Regions from separate parts of the Homo sapiens genome. Here region 1 is linked to region 2. Evidence: promoter capture Hi-C in 16 types of primary human blood cells and fetal thymus (Javierre and others, 2016). All regions are on one chromosome and are shown on one strand. The core of a region is centred on a gene start or on the middle of the fragment in contact, and the rest is flanking DNA. Distances in the headings are between cores, read along the strand shown. Region 1 has its middle 3.9 kb from the start of ERCC6. Region 2 holds the start of SGMS1 (sphingomyelin synthase 1).

What was found. Contacts are between HindIII fragments. The CHiCAGO score rates a contact against its expected background, and 5 or more counts as called.
Region 1: a fragment that was not itself captured here is called in contact with the fragment with the promoter of SGMS1 in region 2 in 1 of 17 cell types (naive CD8 T cells); the score reaches 5.0 in naive CD8 T cells.

What each region holds. Positions count from the first base shown.
Region 1 is chr10:49,540,744-49,545,326 of GRCh38, reverse strand. No RefSeq gene overlaps it. Among named protein-coding and RNA genes, the nearest start is that of ERCC6, 3.9 kb to the right of the region's middle. The HindIII fragment of the contact is 1,617 bases long and covers 2,142-3,758 here.
Region 2 is chr10:50,621,807-50,627,173 of GRCh38, reverse strand. SGMS1 (sphingomyelin synthase 1) reads left to right here and starts at 3,218. Exons shown (of 11, transcript NM_147156.4): 1 at 3,218-3,467. It overlaps SGMS1-AS1 (SGMS1 antisense RNA 1), which reads right to left and starts at 2,223. Exons shown (of 4, transcript NR_126411.1): 1 at 1,983-2,223; 2 at 369-504. RefSeq lists silencers at 2,051-2,680, 2,805-2,962, 3,011-3,270, 3,531-3,870 and enhancers at 2,821-3,349, 4,061-4,460, 5,011-5,170. The HindIII fragment of the contact is 12,791 bases long and covers 1-5,367 here.

The DNA of each region.
Region 1 (4,583 bases), core at 1,701-4,200, 1.1 Mb after region 2:
ACATTAGAATAGAGGAAAAAACATTTAGGACTCTCATGGAGAGCTGAAATATTCATGACTATCAAGCAGAACAGGAGTCAACTGCATGGAGTAAACTAATAGAAGCCTGAAGTAATCTTTTTGACTTTTTTTCTTAAAGTGTTGCTGATCCTTTGTTTTGTTTTTCACAGTCAAGAAAACTTTTATTTACAACTTGTAGCAGCTGAGTATGCCTATAAACAAAATTTGAAGCATATTTCTCTCTACCTGATTTCTCCAGAATTTGGAAACTATTTGTGAGTATTCTTATGGCAATATAGTTATTTACATAAGTGCAGTAAGAATCTGTTTTCTTTTACAACAGGACACAGTTGGAGGAACTGATTATTTTACCAAGCCTTTGACTGGAATGGCATGCTTTCAAATATAAACAAACTGCTTCAAGGAATCAAACTTGACTTATAGAGACAATAAAAGCCCCTTGGGAAAACTGGCCTCATACCTTGTCTACACAGTCCTTGTACAGGGTTCTTGGTCTGTAATAAGTAAAGAATGCAACTTTCTGAGAGGCCCAGGAGCACCAATATCTTGGGACCTCAGGAGGAGAGGAATTTACCCAACTTACAGGTATTTGATGGCAGCAACCCATGGCTGGGCTCAGTTTTAAAAAAAGTCTTATTTAAAATTCCTTATAGAACAAAGATCCATCAAATCCAATTACAAAAAAAAAACCCATGTGAAAAATAATTATTCTTGCTGCCCTTTTTACGAAGAATCAGGCCAAGTATAAAACTAAATTTATTTAGTTGGAAGCAAATCAGTCTTACCATGATTTGTCTTTAATAAAAGTGGGAGCCTGAAGAGAGAAAAAAGTTATGTTTCAACTATGGTACACCTGTTATTAGATTCTAGTCTCATCAGTTATTTTTAAGGGTTTTTTCTTCCTTGCAATTTAGACTAACCCTACTTTTTCCTGCCAACTAACCAGTGATCTCTGGCTGCTGCTCAGAAAAAAAATAACAGAAATGGGTAATGTAAAAATCTGGATCAATATTCTAATTCTAATTGGAACATATAGCATGTACAGCAACTTCATATCAGCTTGCCCAGTTCCAGCTGTTGCCGAGTTCATGGAAAGCCTTCTAATTTAGTTTACTTGGGATAGTTTTACTTATTTTGCTTTACCGTTGTGGAACATATTGCTGTTGTACTCCGTGTGGGAGTGCAGGATAAGCTTACTCAATGTTTAATTAAATTGAATACTTTTTAATCTTCCAGATATCACCTTTTGCCCTCAAGAGTTATGAATGTCCCTCACCATAGTGATGCCTTCTGACTGAGCTCCTCACTACCCTGAATACAAGAGACCATAATAGTTAGGTAGGAGTAGCATAGCCCTTATTCAGCTTGAAGAAGTTACAGAAGATGGATCTTTGTCCCTCTACTACCCTTTGGATTAGGCGTTCCCTTGTAAAAGGGAAGGGAGAAATATGTCAGAGGCATTTGAACCAGAGTGATTCCATCTTGAATTGGGGCTGGGTGAAATAAGGCTGAGACCTACTGAGCTGTATTCCCAAGAGGGCAGGCATTCTAAGTCACAGGATGAGGTAGGAGGTTGGCACAAGATACAGGTGACAAAGACCTTGCTGATTAAACAGTTTGCGGTAAAGAAGCTGGCCAAAACCCACGAAAACCAAGATGGCAATGAAAGTGATGTCTGGTCATCCTCACTCTTCCTTATATGCTAATTATAATGCATTAGCATGCTAAGAGACACTCCTATCAGCACATGACAGCTTACAAATGCCATGGCAATATCAGAAAGTTACCCTATATGGTTTAAAAATGGGAAGAACCCTCAGTTCTGGGAATTACCCACCCCTTTCCTAGAAAACTCAGGAATAATCTACCCCTTCTTTAGCATATAATCAAGAAATAACTATAAGTATTCTCATCAAGCAGCCCAAGTTGCTGTTCTGCCTATGGAGTAGCCATTCTTTATTCCTTTACTCTCCTAATAAACTTGCTTTCACTTTACTCTATGGACTTGCCCCGAATTCTTTCTTACTCAAGGTCTAAGAACTCTCTCGGCATCTGGATCGGGAATCCTTCCTGGTAACAGTTCACAATGGATGGTTTTATACATTCATTGCTTTTAAGCTTGCTGATTCATTTATTCAACATACATTTAACATGTTTTTCTAGTGGTTGCCAACACAGTTCTAAATAATATGCTTTTGCTTCTTTTTTGATTTATAATTTTTACAAAGTATTTATTGTGTTTCCAATACATCTAATTATTTTTCATGAGTTTTCCCCATTTATAAGGATCAGAGAACCAAACCGGTTTTGTTGCACTGCCGTTACCCAGAAGTTTTGAAAAGTGAGAGTCAACTCAGACCTCTGTTCTGTAGGTCATTGGGAGAATTCCTTATATTGAACACGAAATGTGAAATAAAGGCGCAAGGATGAATATCGTCATAGTTAAACAAGTTAACATTAGTAAAGCACTCAAGACAATGAAACCACCTTTGCAAAAATTATATCAGTTAGAAAATTATGACAGTGAAAGAGGTCTGAGTTAACGCCCCCATTCCAACACCTATCTTGCCTTTCCCTTAATTATTTCTAAGCTACTGGGGCCAGCTAACTTTGAGAGACATTTAGGCTATAGTTTACATGATAACAGACCTTGCCTGAAACTCAACTGTTTTTGTAAAGCTAATGGGAAGCTATCAGGCTGTGGGGGAGGAGAGGAGCCTGAGTCCTGCTAAGGCGCAGATATGAACGATTGTCAGTCATTATTCTGGAGGTTATAAGATACTCAACTTTCCCAATTACTCCTGCAAATAACACCACTGATATGGTTTGGCTGTGTCCCCACCCAAATCTCATCCTGAATTGTAGTTTCCATAATCCCTACATGTTGTGGGAGGAAGCCGGTGGGAGATAACTGAATCGTGAGGGTGGTTACCTCCATGCTGTTCTGATAGTGAGTTCTCACGAGATCTGATGGTTTTATAAGGGGCTTTCCCCCTCCTTCACTCTGCACTTCTCCTTGCTGCCACCATGTGAAGTAGGACATGTTTGCTCCCCCTGTCACCATGATTGTAAGTTTCCAGAGGCCTCCCCAGCCATGCTTAACTGTGAGTCAATTAAACCTCTTTCCTTTATAAATTACCCAGTCTTGGGTATGTCTTTATTAGCAGCACGAGAGCAGACTAATACAACCACTATTTGTAGCTTTTTGAGATATCTTTCCAGGTTTTTTGCATGTCTGACACCCATGGCTCCACCTGGACCGCCAACCCCACTCCCACAGCCCCACCCAGAAGTGATTCAGACTGCAGGAGGACAGCTTTGACTCCCCCTATGATTTCATCTCAGCCTCAACCAATCAGCAGCAAGCACCTGTTACCTGGCCACTCCCACCCCTTCCTCCAAACTGCGTTTGAAAAACCCCCAGCCTATGAGCTTCGGACTTTGGATCAGATGACCTGAGCATGCACTCCATCTCCCACCTGGCATGGTCGGCCTCGTGTCTATTAAGCTCTTTTTCTACCACAATGCTATGGTCTTTCTTTATGCAGTGGGCAGGAAGAACCCCTTGGGTGGGGTGTTTAAAATAATGCCCAGCTTAGAGTAAGGGCTAGGAAATGGTAGGGAAAATGGATTAAAATCCAAATCAATAACTACTATAATAATGACATTAGAAATATTGGTTTGGGGGTACACAGGAGATGCAAGAGCCTATTGCTGTCAGAGGGTAGGGGAAAGCTTCAGAAAAGAGAAACTTTGTCTGAGTTTGGAATGGGTAAGAGAATTCTAAGCAGAGGGACCTGCTTGTAAGATCACAGAAGTGACAGAATAACAAGTAGGGGTATGTGGGAAAAGATTAATAATTGCCTCTCCCCCAAAGTTCCAGTTTATAGTTTGTCCATTTCTGTGGTATAAATACTCCTACTATGGCTGATTTCAAGCTATTAATGTGAAGTCAACAAAGGCAGAGTTGGTGCTATGGGCTAAACTGGGTGCCCCCCAAATTCATATGCTGAATCCCTAACCCTCAATGTGACTATTTGGAGACAGGGTCTTTAGGCAGCAAATCTGGTTAAATGAGATCATAAGGGTGAGTCCCTAATCCAATACGGCTGATGCCTTAGAAGAAAGGGAAGACAGAGCCCTCTCTCTACCCCATGTAAGGACACAGTGAGAAGGTAACCATTTGCAAGCCATGAGGAGAGCTTCCCCTAAATGAGCTAAATCTGCCTGCATTTGATCTTGGACTTCCCAGCCTCCAGAACTATGAGAAACAAATGCCTGTTGTTTAAGCTGCCCAGTCTATGGCATTTGTTATGGCAGCCTGAGCTAAGGCAGCTGGGAAGAGGTGAACAGTATGCTTGCTAGGCCGTAGAAGCCAATTGTAGCACACCCTTCCTGGGAGAAGAGTAAGTAGTTCCCTAAATCCTGAGCATAGGCATCCAGGGAGTGAAGGACACAAGTGATGCAGAAAAATTAGATGGGGCAGGAGTATAAAAGGGCTTGGACGACTTGCTAAATAACTTGGGACCTCATTTAACTAAATTCCCTCATTAAAGACCCTA
Region 2 (5,367 bases), core at 1,969-4,468:
CCTACTTCAGAATAGCTGTTTTGGTAAGTGAAGCATTTGCTTCAGTATTTGCTCTTAGTATTATTTTTAACAAGATTTCTAATGACAGATTGTGACTTGGAGGTGATTCACTTTTGTTTCCTAGTTGTCTTGACAGCAACGTAATTCATGATATTCTGAGTACTTGAGAATCCAAAAATTTTACAATCCAACAATATGATGTTTATTAAAATTTTCCTAAGAAATACACTGGTAAGCAAGGCACAGTGGCTCATGCTTGTAATCTCAGCACTTTGGGAAGCGGAGGCCTGTGGATTACTTGAGCTCAGGGGTTCAAGGCCAGTTTGGGCAACATGATGAAACAGCCTCGGCCAAAAATAAAAAATTACCTGGGCATGGTGGCTTGCACCTGTGGTCTCAGATACTCAGGAGGCTGAGGGTGGAGGATCACTGGAGCCCTGTAAGTCAAGGCTGCAGGGAGCTGTGATGGTGCCACTGCACTCCAGCCTGGGTGACAGAGTGACTCTGAAGAAAAAGAAAGGGCACTGATAAAAATTCTTTAGGATTGGATGGACTAAAGAGGGAGAACTATTTTTATTCAATTTTTTTTTTTGGTTACAAATAATAGTGACTTAAGGACCATAACTAAATATAATTTCAAGGAGGGGCAACTCTTAGTGTCTCTTATAACCACTTCACACAGAATTTACTTTTACTGCTATGGTGATTTCTCTTTAGATTTCTTTCTGTATTTATTTACGCTTTTATTTTTTATGTATGGTGTATATATCTATGACTTTTTCTCTCTGATTTTATGAAACTGAAATTAAAGTGGAAATACTTCTATGCCCTGCTTTTTTCCATGTGCTATATATATATCATCCTAAAATTACACATGGAAAAAAATTTAAAAGGATTTTATTATGAAACATTTCAAACATATAGAAAATTTGAAAAAAAAAATTATGCCAGTACCTTAGACACACGATTTACATTCAAGAAGTATTAATATTTTGAAAAATTTAGTTATCTTTCATGTGGGGGTGGGGTGCATTTTAAAGTACATCAAAGACCAGATGCTTACTTGGACCTTTGTTTCAGGAAGTCCAGAGCTTACAGCATATTCTGGATAGCACTGGAGAGAAACCAACACGGGAGAGAAAGCAGCCAGCAGTTTTCTGGCACTCCCTTAGTTTGAAAAAATTTACATCACAAGAAAGCAAGCCTTCCTTTCACCTTTTAGGTGCAAACTGATAAACATAACCAGTAGGGCTACTATACTTCACAGAGCCTTGCTCCCAGTAGATACTCAAAACATGCAGTTGAACTGAATTTCAGTTGTTATTTTAAAGCCGTGCTTGAAAAGCGTATGTGACAAATGTACTTTCCTAATCTTCCTGAGAAGAGCAGTACTGTGTCTTACGGGCGAAAAAACCAGAGGAGCCAGGAGTGGAGGGTGCAATAAAACGCCTGCATTGGGGCAGATTGCCTCATTTTGAATCCCTGACTCCTCACTGTGCTTTGGGGAAAACTATGGAAATTTTCACTGCCTAGCTTATTAAAATGGACTGCTTAGCTGAAATATAGAGGCGTCCATGACAACTACCCGGAGGGCTTTGTTAATCATATTGCAGGACTCCACCCGCAGTTTCTGGTTCTGTAGGTCTAGGTGGGGCCGAAAACGTGCATTTCTAACAAATTCTAGGGTGATAGTGACGCGGCAGGTCCCGAGACAACAGGAAACCCAAGGGACTCGAGGCAGGCGCTCAATAAATATTCACTATGAACCTCAGCACCATCGAAGCGGCCCACCAGCAGGGGCCGCGGGGTATGCGCTGCAGGGAAGAGCACGGCCTCTGTCCAATGTCCCTGCCGGTACATCACTCCTCTGCAGGGACTAGGTTAGAACCGGGAGGCAGCCAGAGCAGCGCTCTCGCTGGATAACGGAAGAGGACTCCCTCGCCAACTTCCGCCTCTGGGGAAAAGCGGGGACCCTCCGCCACCTGAGTTCTGTTGTCTCGATTTCGCCGCAGTTTGCTTCTGGCCCGGGCGAGAACCTGTCCTCTGGGCAAGCCAGGGGTCGGTACAGGACTCCTATACCCCAAGGCGAGGCGGAGGCAGGTGCCGAGCGGTGGCCAGAGTCCGGCGCCCAAAGCCCGATGGGAGGGCGTGGCGGGGGAGGACGGTCCCGCCAGCTCCCAGGTCGGTTCCGAGCGCCCGCGGCCCGATGGCCGGGCGGAAGATGGCTGCCCGGAGCGCCGCGGACAGTCACGTGGTACGCCGGGCCCGTAGCCGCGCCCCTTCCCCCGCTCGCCAAGTCCCCGACCCCGCGGGAGGCACGGCCTCGGGCTGCCTGTAGGCCACCGAGGTGCGGCGCGGGCCGGCCAGGGACGGCGGGCATCGGGGCGGGAAGGCCAGCTCTCCCCGCTGTCCATCCTAACTTGGGCGCTGGGGCTTCGCTCGGGGAGCAGAGGAAAACCTTCCTTCAGGCGACTTGCACCACGTGGGGCTACTGGGCATGCGCGGGCTCCGACCCCGGCCTAGCCGCTCTCCGGGTTTTCGCCGCAGCTCGGAGGGGCGGCGGAAGGTGGGCCCCAGGCGGGGCGGGGCGGCTCTGACGCAGTCGGAGTTTTCACCTCGCGCGGTTAGAGCTCTTGCGCCTCCGTCGCGCTCCCAGGCGTCGCCAGAGGCTTTTTTTTTCTGTTGTGGGAGAAAGATGAGAGTCTATGGTTAGAGGTTTGAAAATGGGCCGAATAGTCAGGTCGGCCGTTTCCTAGGAATGATCCATTGGGCATTAATCCCAAGTGTCGCAGCCCTTGGGCTTGGTGGGAAAAAGAATCCAGTAGTAGTTCGCAAACTCGTGCCTGGCTTCCAGCAGGCTGAGTTTGCGTTCCCTGCTTTGTGACCAGCTCTAGCGGCTCCCGTCTCCGGCCCTGCCCCAAGGGATTTACCGTCCCAGATTGTAAAATCTGGCTCCCGCTAGGCCTTACTTAGTGGGCCCCTAAAAACGCTGGGGAAAGCGCCCGCCTCCTCAGTTTCCCATTACTTGAAAGTAAAATTCAAGGGGCCCAAACTGCGACTGTCCCTTGGTTCGGGGTCCCGCTCGGTCCCGGGAGGAGCCCCCCGCGGACCCCGCCCGGCCGGCCCGCCCCCCCGGCCGCAGTGAACACCCGGAGGAGCGGAGTCGCGTCGCGCGGGAAGCCGGGCCGGCTCGGGCAGCGGACTGGGCATGCTCGGCAGCCCGGGAGGCTCGCGGTGGCAAGTCGAAAGCGTTCGCACCAGCGGGGCAGCGGCTGCGGGCGGCAGGCGGCGGGCAGGTCGGGAGTGAGAAGGACCGGCCTGGGCTGACTGCTCTCCCCTCGCGCCTAGGGAGCCGGTCGGAGAGCGCGATTGGGGTGCGGAGCCCCGACGCTGCCCTGCCCCGGATTTCATTCCGCGGCGGGGGCTCCGCGAGCGGAATTCCGGCGGCTGCCGTGACTCCAGTGCAAGTGAGTCGTGGGGCAGGGACAGACAGCCGGCCTCACGGTTGCGGGGGCCGATCGGACACCTGTCTCGCGGGCCCGGCCTTATGCCGGGGAGCAGCGGGCGGGCTGCTCTGGGGCGAGGGGGCGTGAGCGCAGCCCGCGCGGTGCCGCGCGCGTACCTGGCGGGCAGTCCTCCAGAGCTGCTGCTCCCGTGGGTGGTCACAGCGGGGAGGTCCGGCGGCCGGGATCCGGGCTCGGAGGGGGCGGGCCGCCGGCGGGGCTCCCCGGCTAAGTTGGGGCGGGGAGGAAGGAGGAGGCGTCAGTGGGCACCTTTTCAGAGCTACTGCGTGCGGGCTGGAAGGCTGCCTGGTGTCGGATTGGGGCGATCGGGAGGCGGGGAGCCTTTGGGCAGTAGCCCGCCCGGGGTCCGGAGACCCCCACCCAGGGGCCGACTCCAATCACGGCTCCACCCCCACAGCCTAGGTGGCGGTGTGACAGTTGGTACCTTCGGTCCAGATCGCAGCCGGCCAGGCGCCCACTATTTCGGGATCCCCCCACCGTAGCCCCTCGATGCCCCCTGACGACAAAACAGGTGGGACCCCCCCTCCCCGAGGAGCGCTCCCCTTCTCTCCAGGCCGCGTAACAGCCCGCCAGGCTCGCGGGCGGCTCTGAGACCCCGCAGGGCTGCCCCCGCGGGGCGGGGACGTTTAGGGGCAAGGCCTGGAGGGGAATCGGCGCAGCCCAGAACTGGACAGTCTCTCCAGGACGCCGCTTTTCCGTGACAGAGGGGGTCTGCGCTATCCCCCAGCGACGTGTCAAGGGCAAAACAGCAGCAGCAGCGGCTGCCTCTCCCACCGTCTTAACCCGAACTCGGGCTTGTGGCGTCCTCCCGTGGGCCGGATAGAGTGCCCTAGTCCAGCTAACGGATTCAGCCTGGAGCGTTCTGGTGAATGCTGCTTTCCTCTTTGGTGCCGCGAAGTAGAAATCGGGATAAGGGTTGTCATGGCCGGAGGGAGCGAAGAGAATCCAGGCAGGTGCTTCTCAGATGTTTCTTTTCACCTTCAAACAGTACAGACTTCAGCGGTACACGCTTACGAAACCAAGTGAAGGCTGCTTTCTGAAAGGGAAGTTTATTTTCTATGTTCTGGGGCCTGTCGACTATTTTAGCTCCCTTGACATTTATCTTCCTGGACCTTTAAAGCTGTTTGGACAGGTTATTTTGCTTTTAGGTTTGGGGATGTTTCTAGTTGGCTCCCTGGATGTGGAAGTGGCGAATGTCTGATGTGCTGTGCTGTGAACTCCCCACGCTTCCTGGCACTGGGGGTTGAAACATTCAGGGGGGACTGAGTGGGCCGAAGGAGAGGAGTGGGACTGGTGACGTAGGAACGCGATGGGTGTTGCCTAGAGCTGCCCAGATGGAAAGGGGTTGGCGGCTGTTTTGGCCTGTGCAGAAGGGGAGAGGGCGGGGCGTTTCATTGGTCGGGGTGTGAAACGTCCACGGGCGAAGGCTGCGGGGGATGGGTGCCTGTCTGGTCAGTGCTCCAAGGGAAGCCCAGGGATGTTTGGTGATTCAGCAGGTGGCAGCCTTCCAGCTCTGAAGACATGCCGTGGCCAAGCAAAGAAGCAAGCAAGCAAGCAAGCAGCAGCCTGTGCCTGCTGTCGGAGGCGCCAGCTTTGGGGGAACCTCCAGGTGCTGCCTTCTGCCTGTGGCAGCTCACTTGTCTTATCTTGCTTCCTGTTTAGCTCTGGAGGCCCTGGTATTTCGAGTTTCCTTACTGCGCCTCTTAAAATATACAGCAATATATAGCATGTTTTTGAGTCTCTGCATCTCTGTGACCTGCTGGGTAGCAGTGGGGTGGCTGCTGCCGCCATGCAGTTTTAAGTAGTTACTCTGCAGAAAGTGACAGTGATATGTAAAAACAGT